Linked DNA regions of Homo sapiens: region 2 is linked to region 1. The links are contacts of gene promoters, found by promoter capture Hi-C in blood cells and fetal thymus (Javierre and others, 2016). All regions are on one chromosome and are shown on one strand. The core of a region is centred on a gene start or on the middle of the fragment in contact, and the rest is flanking DNA. Distances in the headings are between cores, read along the strand shown. Region 1 holds the start of ZMAT5 (zinc finger matrin-type 5). Region 2 holds the start of DRG1 (developmentally regulated GTP binding protein 1).

The links. Contacts are between HindIII fragments. The CHiCAGO score rates a contact against its expected background, and 5 or more counts as called.
Region 2: a contact is called between the fragment with the promoter of DRG1 here and the fragment with the promoter of ZMAT5 in region 1, in 1 of 17 cell types (naive CD8 T cells). The highest score is 5.3, in naive CD8 T cells.

Annotation. Positions count from the first base shown.
Region 1 is chr22:29,764,028-29,768,930 of GRCh38, forward strand. It overlaps ZMAT5 (zinc finger matrin-type 5), which reads right to left and starts at 2,980. Exons shown (of 6, transcript NM_001003692.2): 1 at 2,845-2,980. UQCR10 (ubiquinol-cytochrome c reductase, complex III subunit X) reads left to right here and starts at 3,342. Exons shown (of 2, transcript NM_013387.4): 1 at 3,342-3,521. The coding sequence starts at 3,372. RefSeq lists enhancers at 2,215-2,864, 2,834-3,063, 2,865-3,514, 3,424-3,473. The HindIII fragment of the contact is 8,045 bases long and covers 1-4,903 here.
Region 2 is chr22:31,397,826-31,402,425 of GRCh38, forward strand. It overlaps DRG1 (developmentally regulated GTP binding protein 1), which reads left to right and starts at 1,779. Exons shown (of 9, transcript NM_004147.4): 1 at 1,779-1,900; 2 at 2,795-2,918. The coding sequence starts at 1,859. RefSeq lists a silencer at 1,439-1,718 and enhancers at 1,806-2,711, 1,839-1,888. The HindIII fragment of the contact is 2,387 bases long and covers 475-2,861 here.

The DNA.
Region 1 (4,903 bases), core at 1,730-4,229:
AGGTGAATTGCTTGAGCCCAGGAGTTCCAGGCTGCAAGGAACTATGATTATTACAACCAGGAATTATGTGCCACTGTACTCCAGCCTGGGCAATGGAGGGAGACCCTGTCTCTACAAAAATAAAACATAATAAAACCAAATGAAACAAGCCACACCTTTAACTCCCTGTGGTCTTCCCTACTCATTTCTCCCTCCTCTGAACTTCCCATCAGCCAGATTGGTTGGAAATGATTAGCAAGACCTAAGTAGTCTTCCCCTGGAGCCTCACAACTTCCTGCTCTGAGGGGCTCCCAGGATGCTTTGCAAATAGTATAAAACCACAGTAAGGATAACTCATGGATGTAAAGCATTTCACATTTTACCTTCTGATCCCCTAACCTGGTATTACTGTTGCTCTTTACAGATGAATTAAAAGAGAGTTAAAGCCTGATCAATGTCAGAGTCAGAGGCAGAGCCAGGCCTGCAATCCAATCCCTAGTTTTTGTTTGTTTTGTTTTCATTTGAGCTCCATCACCCAGGCTGGAGTGCAGTGACGCGATCTCAGTTAGTGGCAGCCTCCGCCTCCCAGGTTCAAGCGATTCTCCTGCCTCAGCCTCCCGAGTTGCTGGGATTACAAGCGGGTACCACCACACCTGGCTAATTTTTTTGTATTTTTAGTAGAGACAGGGTTTCACCATGTTGGCCAGGCTAGTCTTGAACTCCTGACCTCAAGTGATCCACCCACCTTAGCCTCCCAAAGTGTGGGGATTACAGGTGTGAGCCACCGCGCCTGGCCCCTAGTTTGTTTTTCATGGAGACGGTCTCACTATACGGCCCAGGCTGGTCTTCAACTCTTGGCCTCAAGTGTTCCTCCTGCCTTGGATTCCCAAAACACTGGGATTATAGGTGTGAGGCACCATCCCCAGCCCAGTCCCTGGTTTTGAATGCCACCCCTATCCGGATGACTCTTCTCAGGCTCATACCTCTCCTCTAAACTACAGATCCATGTCCTCATTTGCCTCTAGACACCTCCACTTGATGTCTGTTGGCTAGCTCAAACTGATGTGGCCAAAACAGAACTTAAGATCATTCTGTTGATTTTAAATTGTTGAGGTCAAAACTTAGATGTCAGCTGGACGCGGTGGCTCACACCTGTAATCCCGGCACTTTGGGAGACCGTGGCAGGCGGATCACTTGAGGCCAGGAGTTCAAGACCAGCCTGGCCAACATGGTGAAACCTTGTCTCTACTAAAAATACAAAAATGAGCTGGGCGTGTTGGCATCCGCTTGTAATCCCAGCTATTCAGTAGGCTGAGGCATGAGAATTGCTTGAACATGGGTGGCAGAGGTTGCAGTGAGCCAAGATTGTGCCACTGCACTCCAGCCGCACAGAGTGAGACTCTGTCTCAAAAAAAAACAAAAAACAAAAAACAAAAAAAACTTAGATATCCTCCTCAATTCCTCTTTCCTGTGCACCCTACACACATCTGCTAGCTTGCTCTGTCTGCCCTCCCTCCCAAATTACATCCCAAATCTGATCACTGCCCTGCTCCACACCCTAACCTAAATTACCACCCATCAGGCCGGGCATGGTGGCTCACGCCTGTAATCCCAGCACTTTGGGAGGCCAAGATGGGAGGATCACCTGAAGTCAGGAGTTTGAGACTAGCCTGGCCAACATGGTGAAACCCTGTCTCTACTAAAAAAAAAAATTAGCCAGGCATGGTGGCAGGCGCCTGTAATCCCAGCCACTCGGGAGGCTGAAGCAGGAGAATCACTTGAACCCGGGAGGCGGAGGTTGCAGTAAGCCGAGATAGCACCACTACACTCCAGTCTGGACGACAGACCGAGACTCCATCTCAAATAAATAACCACCCATCTTCCCTCAAATGATCTACTACAATAACTTCCCCCTTGCGGTCCACTCTCCATAGACCAGCCAGGATGATGACATTAAAGTGCACATTAAATCTTGTCGCATTTCTCCTGAAAACCCTTCAATGGCCTCCTAGTGCAACTAGAAAAAGACAAGACTCCTTGGCCAGACGCGGTGGCTCACGCACCTTGGGGGGCGAGGCAGGAAGATTGCTTGAGCCCAGGAGTTGGAGACCAGCCTGGGCAACACAGTGAGACCCTGTCTCTAAAAACAAAAACCAAAGAAAACAAGACTCCGTAAGGTGGGTTCCAAGGCCAGACATGAGCTGACCGGAGTCAACCTCTTCACAGTCCACTCTACTTCTTTCCCTCAAACATCCCAGGACTGTAGCTGCCTCAAGGCCTTTGCACCAACGTTTTCCTGTTCAACTCTACTATTCATTCAGGTCTCTAGTCAAGTGTCACCCCCCAGAGCAGCTACCCAGGGTGCAATGTCACCACCACTGCCTCTCCAGTCAACCAAAGCACTATCTGTTTGCTGTACTGCATCTCCCCACCCGCCCACTCCGTAGATTGAGCGCTCTGTGAGAGCAAGGACTTTGTTCACTGCTGGGTCCCCAGAGCAGGGACCAGAACAGGCGCTGGGAAAACATCTGTTGAATGCCCCAGGTACTCCAAAGCCCTTGCTCTTTTCAATCCCAAGCAGGTTCCAAGTCTCCAGCCTTCCAAACCAGGGTTGCCCGGTGCGAAGCCCAGGGGTGAGAGGAACAGGAAGCAGGGCAGATCCGTCCCTGCCCTTAATCCAGGGTGAAGGGTTTAACCTCCAGGACAAGACTTTTGCCGCAGGCTCCAGCTCCTGGCCTAGACTTGGGGCTGGTGCAGGGGACAAGGCGAAGAGTTGAGCCAGGGTCTCGGGAACCCAGCTGCCCTCGCCCCTCTATCCACACCCTATCCCAAGAAATGGTGCGTCCCGCCGCAGGGCGTACGCACAGAGAAGGAAGTGTTCAAGTCTTCCAGTGCGGAGAAAAGAGACTAGGACTCGCCCCTCGACGTCTCGCGGAAGGTACCTGGCTCCCCGGTGGCTGCAGCTCCGGGCTCCTCCTCCTGCGTCCTCGCGTCGCGTACTGCTTGCTGGGATTCGTAGTCTCGCCTTGGCCATCAGTTCGCCCTTCCCAGAGAGCTTTGGGAATCTAAGCCGGGACTGGGCGGAGGGCGGGGAGAAGGTGATGGCGCGCGAGGGCTTCTGGGAGTTGTAGTTTGACATATTCTAACAGCCAGGAATTCTGGAGAAGAAAAATTGGGTAATAAATCTTATCAGATTATCTGGGCTGTCCTGATATGAACCTTTTGAGTTTTTTTCCTCATTCCCAGGATAGGAATACCTCTGTGGTTCAAAACACGAAGGCTGAGATTCAGAGGAACTACAAATCCCATAAAGTGTTGCACGTCTAGGGCCTTTGGGGAACGAGGTCGGCCCCAGCGCAGGCGCGGTGGCGCGAGTTGGACTGTGAAGAAACATGGCGGCCGCGACGTTGACTTCGAAATTGTACTCCCTGCTGTTCCGCAGGACCTCCACCTTCGCCCTCACCATCATCGTGGGCGTCATGTTCTTCGAGCGCGCCTTCGATCAAGGCGCGGACGCTATCTACGACCACATCAACGAGGGGGTGAGGGCCTGTGCCATCCCTGACCTTGGACCCGCCTGAGGGGTGACAGTGGAGTAGAGGTGGGATGGGACTCAGTATACTTTTACCAGGAAGGGGGTAAGGGGTAAACCGTCGGCGTCTTCTGTCTCGAGTCCGCCGTCTGTCCCCTTGGCTTGATGTGAATTCTAAAACGTTAAGCGAGGTTAATATATTTCATTTTGCAGGGGTTGTAAGTATTGCTGTGTGCCACCCTACATACCCACTTGCCCATTATCAGAAGCAAAAACTAAAGGCTAGTGAGAGCAAAGGACTTACTAGCTGCACAGGAAGCCAGGGGCAAGTCAGGGCCAGAAACGGGACCCCTGTCTCTCAGAGTTTCAAGGGCAGATTTGAGCAGGCGACGGTCGTGAAAAGGACGTTAGACACCTTAGACGCCGTGGCTGAAGTTTCAGACGGCGCTTCTGGTCCCCAAGGCTTCCCACGTAGACAGTTGGTATTAATGGTTGAGAGTGGGGGCTATGAAATCAGAAAGCCTTGGATAGGAACACTGGTCCTTGTCACTTAACTGTGGCATTAAGTTGAGCAAGTTTCTTCTCTGAACTCCGTTTTAACTGTGAGATGGAGATATTAATAGTAACCTGAGCACGATTGTGAGGATTACATGAGATGCAGGCAGGGTGCCACATGCCTGGTAGGTGGTACCACTGAAAAATAATCATTGCTTACATTCCTCAGGAGAAAGTGGAAGCATGAGGTAGGAATCGCAACACATTTTTGACTTTTATGTATCATGCACTGTGCTAGGTGCAGTGCATGCTTTATATCGCTAAATTATGACTGTGCTGGAGTAGGCCTTATACATATAGCCCTGTTCCACCACTCACTTGTGTTTTTAATTTGAGACTGTCTGACTCTGCAGCCCGGGAAGGCACTGTCCACTAGTGCTATGCTGCCTGTGACCAGTGCAACTTCCTGCCCCATATGAAAGCATTGCTACTGTCCCATCTCTTGCAAGTGGTTCTGTTAACCACTCCCATTGATCTGGAGAGACATCCAAGTATGTTGTTATAACTCACCCATTTTCCTTGTGCTTTTTTTTGTTTTGTTTTGTTTTTTTGAGACAGGATCTCACTCTGTCGCCCAGGTTGGAGTGCAGTGGCATGATCACAGCTCACTGCAGCCTTGACCTCCTGGGTTCAAGTGATCTTCCCACCTCAGCCTCCTGAGTAGCTGGGACCACAGGCATGCGCCACCACGCCCAGCTAATTTTTGTATTTTTTGTAGAGATGGGGTTTCACCATGTTGCCCAGGCTGGTCTTGAATTCCTGAGCTCAGGCAGTCCTCCTGCCTTAGCCTTCTAAAGTACTGGGATTACAGGCGTGAGCCACTGTGCTCAACCTCTT
Region 2 (4,600 bases), core at 529-3,028, 1.6 Mb after region 1:
GTCACAGTGCCAGGCAGCAGTTGGAGCTCTGTAAATAACGATTGCATGAACAGGATGGCCACCCAGGACTCGGGAAAATGAGTATTACTCTTTGGTGCCTATTGACAGTTCAGGGCCCCAAGGTGGGTCCCAGGGTGTCTTTGAGCAGTAAGTGTTAACTTATCTGCAGGCCTCATATAATAGATTTGCTAAGGAGCACCTACTCACAGAGCAGTGATGCCCTTGATATTGTCAGCCAATTAATTCCTTAAGTACTTCAAGTTAGGATAGGCCTGCTGATTTGATTTTATCTGTCTTTTAAGATTGATCTTTGATCATGTCCCATTCCAGCTGGACCTCCTCATCTTCCCTCCTCCATTGCTAATAGTGTGGGATCTAATTACCTCATCATCCCTTAATTTATTTATGAAAAAGGCTGAGGTTAAAGAAAAGAAAGAAGAAACTCTCTTTGGCCCTTTGGGGACCTTCTGTAAAAGCTTTCCCTTCTGTTTCTCCCTCTTTATGCACAAGAAAACCTCCCTTTTTTGTCTCTGGGAAGTTAGAATAGTTCTTGTTTACAAATTTAACTAAATTAAACTTCCCTCCCAGGGCTGGGTGGAGGCCAGCCCTGTGGGTTAAGCCTGGCCTGTCGACTGTGGGTTAAGCCTGGCCTGTCGACTCCCGCTGGAATAATCAATCTATCAAAACAACCCATTGATCCTGAGGCAAACCGCTTTCAAAACCACCACATAGTTCCTGGACGTCCTGGCTTCCTCATGACACTTGGGGAAGAGGAGTCTTTTGAAATTTTAAATTTTATTATTACACAAGTAATACATGGATACATTCGTCTTGTAAAAATTTAACTTCAAAATTCTGTGGAATAAAATGTGAAAGGCCTTTTCTTTGCATCCCATCCCACAGTTAAGAGCTTCTGATGTATTTTTCTGTTTAGGCCTTTAAACTGCACGTTCATACACGTACACCTATATAAATGTACATTTAATTTTAAAAATAACATAAATGGTATCACTACGTAGGTGCCCTTCTGCTAGTTGTTTTCCCATTTAACATGTCCTGGGTAGCCAGTCAGACCACAGATCTACGTTTTAACGGCTGTAATCATATTTCAAAAACAGGATAGAGGCATTATTCATTTATCCATTTTCCTACTGATGGGTGTTAATATAGATTTCAATTTTTTGGTATTACAAACTATGTTGCAAGCAGCAGTTCTCTGGGAATTATCCATTCAAGTATGCACTTATTTTGGGCTCCCCATGTGCTCTACTCGGGGTTCGGAGTAAACAAAACCGACCTAAAAATAATTTTGAATGATAGAAAGGGGGCATTTTCTTTATCCAAGGGGGTGAGGCAGGCTGAAGATGGGTCTCTACTCCCTCCAAGACCATGGAGGGCGTCGGGGTGTCACCCCAGCTGTGAAAAAGGGACCCAGGACCCGCAGATGCTGGCGAGGAACAGGGGTGCGGAGCATGAGTCGGCTTTGCACCACGCCCTGGGGTCTCCAGCACTGAAGCGTTCAGTACCATGCAGAGCAGCTGGGAGCGGGTCCCGCTGGGCGGGGCCGAGCTGCGCGCGACCCTCGGCGCGCTCGGGGAGGCCCAGACAGGGGTGGCCTCTCTGGCCTCCGCTCCCGCGGGCTCTATGACACCGCACTGGCTCGCGGGACGGGGCGGGGTCGGGTGAGGGGGAGGAGACAGCCCCACGCTTTGCGACTCGCGGTGACCCCTACGCGGAACTCTCTCGCGGTAATTCGAAGTACCGCGCCTGCGTGCTGCAGTAGCGCCTGGTGGCGGTGGCAGTTTGCCCGCGGGTGTGTGAAGGGAGACAGTGTGGAGGCCACAGGGTACTCGCCACGATGAGCAGCACCTTAGCTAAGATCGCGGAGATAGAAGCAGAGGTAATGGACGCAGCTGGCGGTTCACTCTTAGTCTGAGCATTCCTTCTTTGGTGGCGTCGCTCCTTCCTGTTCTCCTTTGAGCCGCGTCAGGACCGGGCCTAGATTCCGCGACTTCTCTCAGCGAGGCCCGTGTTCCGACTGCCCTCTGCCACGATTAGGAGTCCCCGACTCTCCTCAGTCAGGGCCCCCTTTCCCCTCGTCCCGCGTCTACGCTCTCGGACTCCCCTTTGCCCGGGCCCGCGTTCCGCACCCCTGCACCTTAGGCCCTTAGTCCGTTCCCCCTCCCAGTGTTTGGCTCCTGTTCTGATGTTGTTTCTTTCCGTTTTGCTCTGAGAAACACTGAATCCTGTCCCTTATTCCATCTCTGACTTGGTCAGATAGTTCAGGATCTTTCCTCATCATCCTTCGCTGCGTCCCCCTTATTCCCCCTTTTCCCAGTGTCTACCCTAATGACCCCCTGATTCAGAGTATTTGCTCCCGGTAATCGGATCTGGAAGTAAAATGACATCTGTGTGGGAGCAGTTTATTCCGCCTGGATAGTGTGTGATTCCATTGCGTGCGGCCCTGAGAGCGCTTTACAATTAGGAAAGTGGTGTCCCAGTGTTAGATGGATCCAAACAGCTGCAAATAGTAGAAAAGGAACCCGCAGACGGGTTTCAGTCTAGTCTGGGGGCACTAATTGGAATGACCTTAATCGTCTTTCCTCTTTGGGCTTTGCTTTGCTTTGTAGTGAGGGAAATGAGCTGGATGGAGGAGATAATGGACTTTTACTCTTTTAAAGCCTGTAAACTGGGTGTGCTAACATTAGTAGGACTTGGGGAAAAAAATTATCCTCTCAAAGCTGGGGGAAGCGTTCACTGCTTCTAATTTATGGCTGTGATTCCTCCCTTTTAGATGGCTCGGACTCAAAAGAACAAGGCCACAGCACACCACTTAGGGCTGCTTAAGGCTCGTCTTGCTAAGCTTCGTCGAGAACTCATTACTCCAAAGGGTGGTGGTGGTGGAGGTCCAGGAGAAGGTTTGTGTTCTTCTTCAATATATATATTTTTAGGTATAATTTTTGTCAAAATAGTACATACATGTGGTTTAAAAATAACTAAAGATGGCCCAGTGCAGTGGCTCAACGCCTGCAATCCTAGCATGCTGGGAGGCTGAGATAGGAGGATCACTTGAGGCCAGGAGTTCAAGACCAGCCTGATCAACATAGACCCCCATCTCAAAAAAAAAAAAAAGTTTTTTAAAAACAGAAAAATAACTAAAGATGTTCTACTAAAGTAGATTTATATTTTCTAAGCATGAATTCTTGAACTGTGTTTATTTTTATTCTGCCGGTTTCAGAGGCAAATGAATATTGTCTAAGTGTACTGTAGTTTTATTTATATCCTGCACTGATACAAAATAGATTTACATGCGCTGGGTGCAGTGGCTCACCCTTGTAATTCCAGCACTTTGGGAGGCTGAGGCGGGAGGATTGCTTGAGGCCAGGAGTTCGGAACCAGCAAAGCCCTGTCTCTATGGGCTTAGAAATGAGGGGTCCCCATAGGTATGAAAGAAGATGTACCAAAAAAAAAAAAAGGCTGGGTGCGGTGGCTCACGCCTGTAATCCTAGCACTTTGGGAGGCCAAGGCGTGGATCACGAGATCAGGAGTTCAAGACCAGCTTGGCCAGCATGGTGAAACCCCATCTCTACTAAAAATACAAAAATTAGCTGGGCATGGTGGCGCATGCCTGTAATCCCAGCTATTTGAGAGGCTGAGGCAGGAGAATTGCTTGAATCGGGACCCAGGAGGCAGAGGTAGCAGTGAGTGAGATTGTACCACTGCACTCCAGCCTGGGCTACAGAGCTAGACTCTGTCTCAAAAAAAAAAAAAAAAAAAAAAAGTATCCTAGCATGGTGGTGCATGTTTGTGGTCTCAGCTACTTGGGAGGCTGAGTTGGGAGGACTGCTTGAACCCAGGAGGTTGAGGCTGCAGTGAGTTGTGATGGCACCACTGCACTCCATCCTGGGTGATAGAGCGAGATCTCATCTTAAGAAAACCAAAGTAGGGCCAGGCGCGGTGGCTCACTCCTGTAATCCCAGCACTTCGGGAGGCCGAAGTGGGCAGATCACAGGTCAGGAGTTCGAGACTAGCCTGACCAACATGGTGAAACCCCGTCTCTGCTAAAAATACAAAAATTAGCTGGGCATGGTAGCACGAACCTGTAATCCCAGCTACTCAGGAGGCCGAGGCAGGAGAATCGCTTGAACCTGGGAGGTGGAAGTTGCAGTGAGCCGAGATCATGCCACTGTACCCCAGCCTGGGTGACAGAGCTAGACTCTGTCTCAAGAAAAAAAAAGAAAAAACAAAACCAAAGTAGATTTATATTGGCTTACAGAAATGTAAACCTATATCATCAACAAGATTAAAAATAAGTAAAAAAATTGATGCAAAGGGAAAACGTAGGAAAAATAAGTCGAAGCCAAGCGAGATAAGATTTAGGACTAAAAGGAATGGCGTAAGATCTGTGCACCTGGTAGAGAAGGGCCACAGATTTGACTCTGAACTTGTTGGCAGCCATTGTAAAAAGAAAAAAGAAAAAAAGAAAACCCAGTCAGTCATACAATTTACAGAATTTGAAAGACAAAAAAACAAAAACAAAACTCTTTTTAATTAATTAATTTGTTTATTTTAGTTATAAAAGGGCAGCTCCTCCATAGGC